3 separate regions of the Homo sapiens genome follow, and regions 1 and 3 are each linked to region 2. Evidence: promoter capture Hi-C in 16 types of primary human blood cells and fetal thymus (Javierre and others, 2016). All regions are on one chromosome and are shown on one strand. The core of a region is centred on a gene start or on the middle of the fragment in contact, and the rest is flanking DNA. Distances in the headings are between cores, read along the strand shown. Region 1 has its middle 120 kb from the start of LINC02483. Region 2 holds the start of PARM1 (prostate androgen-regulated mucin-like protein 1). Region 3 has its middle 78 kb from the start of RCHY1.

Region 1 (3,363 bases), core at 298-2,797, 300 kb after region 2:
TCACTGATACTGTTTTCATTTATAATTTTAAAAAAAAGTTTTCTCTCGGGTGGCGTTTTAGATAATTTTTATCACTGTATCTTCAAGTTTACTTATCTTTTGTTCTCATGTATAATCTGCCACTACTACCATACTTTTTTATCTTAATTATTATAGTTTTCATCTCTGGAAGTTCAATATAGTTGCTTTTTAATATCTTGCATTTCTCCCCTTAACTCTTTAAACATATGGAATATAGTTATAATAATTGTCTAAATGTACTTGTCTTCTCATTCTAACAACTGTATCAGCTCCAGATTGGTTTTGATTATTTTCTGCATTATCGGTCATGTTTTTTTGTTTGTTTGTTTTCACAAGCCTGGTAATCTTTGTTTTAATGATAGACATTGTGATTTTACTTGCTAGATGCAAGTATTTTTATATTTCTATAAATATTCATGAGCTATGTTTTGGGATACAATGTAGTTACCTGGAAACAGTTTGATTAGGTCTTGCTTGTATGATTTGCTAGGCCGGCCTCAAATGGCACTCCCGTCTGGGCCAAATTATTCCTCACTACTGAAGAACAATCTTCTTGAGTATTCACCCCAATGCTTCATAAATTACGGATTTTTTAATTCTGGGTTTTGGGAATAAGCAATATTCTTGAACATGTGTGCATGCCAGGCAATATTTTCTAATCATTTTGGATTGTTATTTTCTTGCTCTTGAGTAGTTTCCTCACACACAAAAAACATTGATCAGTAATCTGCTGATTACTCAAAGAGAAGCTTTGCAAATCTCCAGGGTTCTACCTCTGTGCAGCCATCTTTTCTTTTTCACTTTGTCTTACAAATGCTAACCACCTTGGTCTCCCCAGACTCTCTGTTTCCTTGACTTAGGGAGTCTGCCAAACTCTGGCTAGGTTCCCCTCTGCTGCATTTCTAATATTTATCTTTACTAATTTTTTCTTAATCCACACTGAGGTTTTGGATCAGAGACAGACATCTTGTGACACTCACAGCATGATCAATACTCAGATTAACATTGCAGCATTGTTCCTCCATGTCTACATTGACACAATGAGAGCCAGATATGAAAAATTTTCTTGAATGAGTGACAGATCACCCCATAAGTGAGAGACACAAAAATAAATTTTCTTTGTTTTATTCAAGAAAAAGAAGCAGATGTCTCCTTTTCCACTTCTGAAAGTGTCCTTGGAAATATCTTACTCTAACCTTTTGGAATGTAAATAACTCTCCAGAGAAAAGATAATCCCAGTGTCTCCAGTTTTACAACTCAGAGACGTCTCCAAGTCCCAGGCTTCATCCTCTCTTGAAATGTACACACAAATCTTTGTGGTTAGTTAAATCTCTCTGGAGTTCTCACTATCTATACAGTTGTAAATTAACTTCTAAAACTTGCTCTCAGGTCAGATTCCAAGTGTCAGTAAAATTTGTTCAGAAAGCCCTAACTGTACTGAAACATAAAAATATTTTCTCCTCAATCTGACATCTTCCTAGTGTTACAACCTGGAAACATTCTCAAAGAGTGAACTGGAACTTAAGTTGTGACCTACACACAACTTCAAATCAAGTTATGAGTTATTCAAGATGTGACTCGCCTTGCTTTCTATCTCTCAGGCAGATAGAAAGACACCAAATCATTGATGGCATCACTGAGCAGCAGAAACTCTCAGTTCTCTGTTATGTGCAATACTAAAGTTTCTGGCTGGGCACAGTGGCTCACACCTGTAATAAAATAAATTAGCTGGGTGTGGTGGCATGCACCTGTAGTCCTAGCTACTCAGAAGTTGTGACCAGAGGATCGCTTGAGCCCAGGGGTTTGAGGTTACAGTGAGCTATGATCATGCCACTGCAAACTAGTGGCTGACAGAGTGAGATCCTGTCTCTAAAATAATAATAATAATAAAGTTTCTAATTGTTTAAGACAATCTGAGTTGGGGTTTTAGCCAAAGCATCCCAACTGATGTACTGCCTTTGCCCCAAGCTCCTATATCACTTGTACATGCTTCCTTTTCAGCTGTGGTTGGCTGCATAACTGTCTTCCCTCTAGACTCCAAACCTCTTGAGAGCCAAGAGGACATAAGTGCATCTTCTCTCTCTAAACTTAGGGCCTGATACAGAGTAGGCATGGCATGTGTGTTGAATGAGTGATTGTTCATCTCCTCAGAAGGTTGTGAAATATCTATTGTTACTATTAATAATAGCTTTTATCAAAAAAATCCATATGCCAACCACGTGCAGCATCTTATGTAATCTTCCCAATAATCCAATGAAATAGATACTACTCCAGTATTAAATTCATTTTTCAGTAGGAAAATTGAAGCTTTGGAAAGTTTAGTAACTTGCCCAACCTTACACAGCTAGGAAATGATAGAAATAGACTAGGACCCAAATATCTCAACCACCAGATTTTTTTTTTTTTTTTTGAGAAGATGACCTTATTTTACTATTTCATAGCTCCCCTACAAAAGTCTAGCACCAGATCTTGGTACATGTGTATAGTAAAGGTAAATTGAATTGAGTTGAATTGAATTGAATTATAGAGAACTGGAGAGAAGGGTAGCTGCTAACATTCAAATACTTGCCAAAAATCTTGCCACAGTTCAACTGTAATTTCTTCATAAAGAAATAAATTGATATTTCAGAAACATAACCCATTAGGGATTCTCAGTACCCTGCTAATGAGATCAGCTCACTAAATTCCAAAAATCTTCAAATAATTCATAGCATGCTCAAGCAGTACATTTATTCCCTTTTCTACCTTGTCACTGAACTCATAAGTATTTCATCAACTATCATAAAATTCCAGATTCATTTTCTATTTCAAAGCCAAGCAAGATGTCTGGGCACCCAATAAATATTAATTAGTGAAGATGATGAAGGTTAACTTGATCTGTTTCTTTCCCCTAATTGCTTTGGAAGACCCTTGGCATCATTTAGCATTGGATTGAAAGCTTTGAAAGATAACATTTCAAATCTATACATTGTTTAATTAACATTAATAGGTATTGCTTCTTTTTTGTTCAAAAGGTTTTGCAGTCATTAATTACATATGCAGAGTGATGGGAACAGATAAAATTTACTCTGAGAATCTTGATGCACTAAACTGTTTCTGTACTGCTGAAATCAGGAAATGCCATAAGAGCACTCTTTTTTGGGGTCATTCTCCTTTCCTCTCTGTTTTTCAATTTGGATAGTAAAGCAAGGTTGACAAATCAATTTGCAATGCCAAAGTTAGATATTCTTTTAAAGCTACAAAATAACAACAACAACAATATGAAACCCTACCCAGTAGTGTCTGGTTTCTCATTCTCCACACATTCACACACATACCTAAAGGAAAGAACCCTGGGAAAGT
Region 2 (3,230 bases), core at 200-2,699:
TGCAGTTTATCTGGCCAGGGAGGATGGAGAGGGGATGGGCACTTGGTCTGAGTATTTTTTGTTTCTCATTCCAACAGAAATTACTAGATTTACCAAAACAAAGAGAAAAAAATATGATCCAAATTTAATCTGGTTGTGGAAGTGTGAGCAAAATCTACAAGTGGTAGTGTGATAGAGTCAGGCAGAGGAATTGACCATAGATAAGGTGCTCAGGACTCCTAGAGTCAGCTTCTGGTATGTGAGAAAGAAGTGAGAACAGAGCCCATGGCATATGAAGAAGATATTACAGAAAAAAGAAAGCTGCCTTCCACGCAAATCATTTCTTTACAAAGGCTTGTTAACTCCTGCAGTGCCCCAGCTCTAGTGACTAGGGGACCAATAGGTTCATTAATAACAGAATTGGGAGAGAACCTGGCATCTGCTTTGATCGAAGTGTGAGAATTAAGCAAGCCTAAAGTGTAGCAAGAGCAGGGAGGGAACTGAATGAAAGGTCAGTTCTAATCTGTAGGCTTTGGAGAAGCTTTGGGCTCTTGAGAGGGAGTAGAGTACAGAGGCTGAGCGGGGTGCCTGGGCAGGCATCTTATCATTACTTGCGAGTTGTGTGAACTCGGGCAAGTTAAACTTCTCTGTGCTTCTACTTTCTCCCCTGAAAACGAGGATATAATCTCCAAGGATTGTTGTGAGAACTAAATGACTTGGTTGATTCCTGAACAGCACGTTGTCCAGTGCCTAGCACATAGCAATCACTCAGGAAACGTCAGCCTTTATTATGGGCCTAGTGCACAAACTATTCTTACCAGTTATGCGACCTTGAGAACATTGTCTTCTCTGTGCCTTCATTTTCTCACCTGTAAAATGGAATAATAATAATTCTTAGAAGGATTCATGAAACAACGCCTAGTAGGGTGTCTGGCTTAGTTATCCCCCCGACAGTATTTTCTTCTAGTAAGAAGCTGAATGCAGCGGCAGACATCCTGGTTCGGGCCCCAGGAAGCTCAGCCGGGTTTAATGTGGATGAGGGTTTAATGATGTACACGCAGAAGTGTTTTGACAAATGAAGAAGGTCCTCATTCTTGGAACATGTGCCGGTTCTCCGAGGGAACTCCTAAAATGGCATAAGGTCACCTTTTTAAAGGCTGTAAGCTCATGTAGGAAAAGCTGAGCTAGATTCCTAAGGGCAGAGATGTGCTCACATTTCTTTGCATCCCTAGTTCCCAGCACAGTGCAAGGCGCTGCAAACATTTGCTGAACCCAGGGTCTCGTGTCTTGACTGTCCAGCAGAGGCCGCTCTGGGCCGGGGCTCTCGGGACCTGAGGGCTGAGAGAAGGAAGGCCAGGGGGTGGCCCAGTCATCGCCGCGGGGCCCGGGTGGGAGGGGTTTGGCAGCGGCAGGCGCGGCGGCGGCGGCGGAGGCGGAGGCGGCCCCGGGCTCGGGCGGCTGGGATGGAGCAGAAGAGCGCGGAGCACCGGAGGGCACGCAGCTGACGGAGCTGCGCTGCGTTCGCCTCGTTTGCCTCGCGCCCTCCACTGGAGCTGTTCGCGCCTCCCGGCTCCCACCGCAGCCCACCCGGCAGAGGAGTCGCTACCAGCGCCCAGTGCGCTCTGTCAGTCCGCAAACTCCTTGCCGCCCGCCCCGGGCTGGGCACCAAATACCAGGCTACCATGGTCTACAAGACTCTCTTCGCTCTTTGCATCTTAACTGCAGGTAATTGGCGCCATCCTCCCGGAAGGGCAGGTCGCGGGGTGGGCCCCAGTAGCTAGCGCGTGGTCGGGGCTGAAGCTAGGAGATCCGGCAGTGAGTCGCCGCGCGCCTCCGGGTGAGTGCGCAGGTGTGTGCGCACTTAGATTTGGGGTGACGTGCACCTTTGGCGGTCCCGAACCGTACTGAGGGAGGGGACGATGGGGTCCTTCCTGCCGCAGCCCGCGCCCGCACAAACTCCAGCTTTGTAGAACAGGTGGCTGTCTTAGCTGCGTGTTCGAACCCAGAGTGGGCAACACGGACTGCGCCTCAAGGCTTCTCTTTCTTCACCAGGGTTTCGGAGCGCACTCTGCCAAAGTACGGGACCAGACTTCTTGTTGCCGTTGGGCCCTGGAAGGGATGAAAAAGCCGGGGAAGTGGGGGTGGGAGGTTCGCATCTGGGAAGGCTTCAGCAGCGGCTGCGCGCCTGGCGGGGCTGGTTTGCTTTCTCGAGTCTTGGCGGTCTCTGATCTCCGGCGTCCCTTCCTAGTTATGCTTAGGATGATGTGGCACTAACAGCAGCGGCCCGGCCTTGGTCAGGCTCGCAATCGTCACTGGGGGTAGCAAGGCTACCTTCTGCCCCAGAACTCCCCAAAAACGTATCCCATAGAAGAAACTATTAACTTGGCTAAACTAGCATCCTCTCCCCTCCCCCTGCACCACCTCTGAAAGGCTTCGTAGGAGCCACTCTCGGGTTTCGGGACCACAGACGGCGACGACCTCTGGCAGCGGGGATGGGGAAGAGGGGAGCCAGATGACTGAGCTCGGCTTGGCGGGGACCGGGGAGAGATTCAGAAAGACGCTTTGAATCTAGAGTTCAGGTACCTATTTTTTCCAGAAAACGTCTCCCGAAAAGGGACAACTGGCTGTGGATATGGTGCTGCTGGGAAAAGTAGCCCGACTGCGCGGCCACTGGCATTTTCAGTTTAAATGTGACCCAAAGTCACATAGCGCAAACCGATTCTACTCGTGCTTTAGTCTGTATATCCTCCCTCTGAGTTCGTCGGGTTCCTACAGTTGTGGACACGAGTCGTCGCAATCCCTTGAAAAGAAGCTAGCGGTTTTCAGGCAGCTCACAGTGGGTAATGCAGTTATAAGGAAAAGTTTCCCAACTTGAAACTATAGCGTATTTTCTCTACTTAGTGAACGTCCGTCTGAGAAAACCTCTTTCTCGCTGGTATCTCGGCACGGTTTGGAGACGCGTCCGCGGACAGTTCCCGAATACTCGCAGGCGGCTTTGGCTGCCCAGCCTCGGGCTGAGATGAGAGAGCCTAGGTCCGGCAGGTGCAATAGGCAGCGGAGCTCCCGGCTGGCTGCGGGTGGTAATTCCTGTAATCCTCAAAGCAGGAGATGCTTACGTAATGACACGGAAGGTACCTTTACTTCTCCTCACTCAAAAATCTTTTCTTGAGGTTCAGAAACCCTTGAGTGAGTCAGTAGAGAGGTTCGTTTGCAAATTTGATTTAGTGGCTTGTCTTGTTTATTTAATCATT
Region 3 (3,383 bases), core at 27-2,526, 500 kb after region 2:
TGGAGAAAAACAGCCTTGTGATGAAGCCCAGCATGTCTGTCTCCATAACGACAAGATCATGGCAACTTGGCTGTGAATCCTCCCTCTACCTCCTCATCAGTGACCACAGTAACAATGCCAAACACCTTTACTCCAGGCCCAGATGGTTTCACTGGAGAATTTTAACAAATGTTTAAAGCAAAATTAACACCAATGGTACACAATCTCTTGCAGTATATAGAAGAGGATTATAACTTCTCAATTCATTTTAGGAAGCATATACTACCCTGATACCAAAACCAGACAAAGACAGCACAAAGAAAACCTAGACATCAATATTCCTCATGAATACAAACACAATAATAACAAAATATTAGCAAATTGAATTCAGCACACATAAAAATAACCAAAGCTATGCTAAGTGGATTTTCTTTTAGATATACAAGACTGATCCAATATTTAAAACTCAAGTGATGTAATCCAATATATTAATAAGCTAAAGAAGAAAAATCACATCATTATATCAATTCATGCATAAAAATTTGATGAAATTAAACAACTATTCATGATTTTTTAAAACTCCCCAAAAAATAGAGGGGAAATTCCCCTTAACTTGATAAAGAGCATCTACCTGCAAAGGACCCTACACGAACCTTATACTTAAAAGTTGACAGACTAAATGCTTTCACTGAAGATCTCAGGAGCGAGTCAAGAATGCCACTCATGGAGAAAATTAGAAAAATGGCAGATAGGAGCCAGTACTAACTTGCAGCTCTCACTTGAATGGACAGAGCAGTATGTGGACACTCACATCATGAAGCTTTGCTCCAAGAACTACTGCAGAAACACATTAGGCAAGCCAAGCGAATCCACAGACCCTTCGAAGGAAGCAGCTTGCTGCTGCAGGCTCTGAGACAGCTGAAAAACTGTGAGTTCCCAAAGTATGAAAAGAGGAAAAATCCACCCTCGAAGACACATCTTTACTGGGGACCCTGAAGGTTCAGATCATGGATGAAGGATTTGACCTTACCTGGAACTGAAATGAATTTAGAGAGTCAAACAAAATATGGGGATACAGGAAGCAGCGGAAAGAGCCCTCTTGGTCCCCAGAGAAGACATTTCTGATTTCATCTCGCAGAGGGGTTTGGGGAGGGCTCCCAATGGAATTGAGGAAAGATCACAGGAAGAAGGAAACTTCCAGCTTAATTTTGTAACAATTTCAACTGAAAGTGAGGTTTCCTGGACAGAACTTGGGGAAAGGGTCAAACAGGGAGCACAGATAGAAGCACAGAAGCTGCAGCAGGCAGGGAGGCATGAAACCTGAAAGCCCTGCTTGCTTTCCCAGCAGGGAGGCTTGTAGCCTGGGGCAGGTTCTCAGCCTTGCTCCCCAGCTGCCTCAAAATAAGCTCGGTGCTGTTGGGGGTGCATGGTGGGAGTAAGACTTGCCTTTCGGGTGGCAAGAAAGCTGGGTGAGGCCTGTAACTGCTGGCTTTCCCCCACTTCCCTGATGACCCATATGACACAGCAGAGGCACCCATAATCCCCCTAGGAACGTAACTGCATTGGCCTGTGAACCACACCCCGATCCCCACCAGCAGCCACAGCAAGCCCTACCCAAAGAGAGTCTGAACTCAGACACACCTAAACTTGCCCCCATCTGATGGTCTTTCTCTACCCACACTGGTAGCAAAAGGCAAAGGACATAAGCTCTTGGGAGCTCTAGGGCCCCACCCACCATCTGAGAAACCCGAATACTTATCTAGGTGACCCTAGGGTAAGCTTGTATCCTCTCTATACTACTGCAACTGATGCTGTCTTGAAAGCACCACCTCCTGGCTGGAGGCCAACCAGAACAAGACCAGTACACTAACAAAAACTACAACCAAGGACCCTCACAGAGTCCACTTCACTCCCCTGGTACCTCCACCAGAATAGGTGCTGGTATCCATGGCTGAGAGACCTACAAATGGGTCACATCACACGACTCTGTGCAGACACTTCCCAATACCAGCCTGGAGCCCAGTAGCTCAACTGGGTGGATAAACCCAGAAGAGAAATAAAAATCTCTGCAGTTCAGGTCTCAGGAAGCCTCATCCCCAGATGGAAGGGAGAGCACCACATAAAGGGAGCACCCCATGGGACCAAAAAATATGAACAGCAGCCAAATCCCAGGTCTTCCCTCTGACGTCCACCCAAATGAGAAAGAACCAGAAAAACAATTCTGGTAATATGACAAAACGAGGTTTTTTTAACACTTCCAAAAGATCACACTAGCTCACCAGCATTGGATCCAAACCAAGATGAAATATCTGGATTGCCAGAAAAAAGAATTCAGAAGGTCAATTATTAAGCTAATCAAGGAGGCACCAGAGAAAGATGAAGTCCAACTTAATGAAATCAAAAAAACAATAAAGGATATGAATGGAAAAATCTCCAGTGAAATAGACAGCCTAAATAAAACACAATCACAACTTCTGGAAATGAAGGACACACTTAGAGAATTGCAAAATGCACTGGAAAGTCTCAGCAATAGAACCAAACAAGTAAAAGCAAGAACTTCAGATCTCAAAGACAGGGCTTTAGAATTAACCCAATCTGACAAAGACACAGAAAAAAAGAATTTTAAAAATGAACAATGACTCCAGGAAGTTTGGGATTATATTAAATGAATAAACCTAAGAATAATTAGTGTTCCTGAGGAAGAAGAGAAATCTAAAAGTTTGGAGAACATATTTGAGGGAACAATCAAGGAAAACTCCCCTGGCCTTGCTAGAGATCTGGACATCCAAGTATAGGAAGCTCAAAGAACACCCGGGAAATTCATCACAAAAAGATCATCATCTAGGCACATAGTCATCAAGTTATGTAAAGTCAAGACACAGGAAGGAATCTTAAGAGCTATGAGGCAAAAGCATCAGGCAAACTATAAAGGAAAACCTATCAGATTAAAAGCAGATTTCTCAGCAGAAATCCTACAAGCTAGAAGAGATTGGGGTCCTATTGTTAGCTTCCTTAAACAAAACAATTATCAGCTGAGAATTTTGTATCCAGCAAAATTAAGCTTCATATATGAAGGAGCGATAAAGGGCTTTTGGACAAACAAATGCTGAGAGAATTCACCACCACCAAGCCAGCACTACAATAACTGCTAAAAGGAGTTCTAAATCTTGCAACAAATCCTTGAAAAACACCAAAATAGAACCTCCTTAAAGCATAACTCTCACAGGACCTATAAAACAATAACATAATGAAAAAAGACAAGGTATTCAGGCAAAAACTCAATACTAACATTGAATGTAAATGGCCTAAATGTTCCACTTAAAAGATACAGAATGGCTGAATGGATAAGAATTTACCAACCAAGTGTCTGCTGCCTTCAAGACACTCACCTGACACATAAGGAC

The links. Contacts are between HindIII fragments. The CHiCAGO score rates a contact against its expected background, and 5 or more counts as called.
Region 1: a fragment that was not itself captured here is called in contact with the fragment with the promoter of PARM1 in region 2 in 2 of 17 cell types (total B cells and naive B cells); the score reaches 5.5 in total B cells.
Region 3: a contact is called between a fragment that was not itself captured here and the fragment with the promoter of PARM1 in region 2, in 1 of 17 cell types (M0 macrophages). The highest score is 6.0, in M0 macrophages.

Annotation. Positions count from the first base shown.
Region 1 is chr4:75,228,677-75,232,039 of GRCh38, forward strand. No RefSeq gene overlaps it. Among named protein-coding and RNA genes, the nearest start is that of LINC02483, 120 kb to the right of the region's middle. The HindIII fragment of the contact is 1,558 bases long and covers 769-2,326 here.
Region 2 is chr4:74,931,667-74,934,896 of GRCh38, forward strand. PARM1 (prostate androgen-regulated mucin-like protein 1) reads left to right here and starts at 1,450. Exons shown (of 4, transcript NM_015393.4): 1 at 1,450-1,704. The coding sequence starts at 1,662. RefSeq lists silencers at 1,284-1,593, 2,174-2,223 and an enhancer at 2,334-2,383. The HindIII fragment of the contact is 7,366 bases long and covers 519-3,230 here.
Region 3 is chr4:75,434,297-75,437,679 of GRCh38, forward strand. No RefSeq gene overlaps it. Among named protein-coding and RNA genes, the nearest start is that of RCHY1, 78 kb to the right of the region's middle. The HindIII fragment of the contact is 959 bases long and covers 798-1,756 here.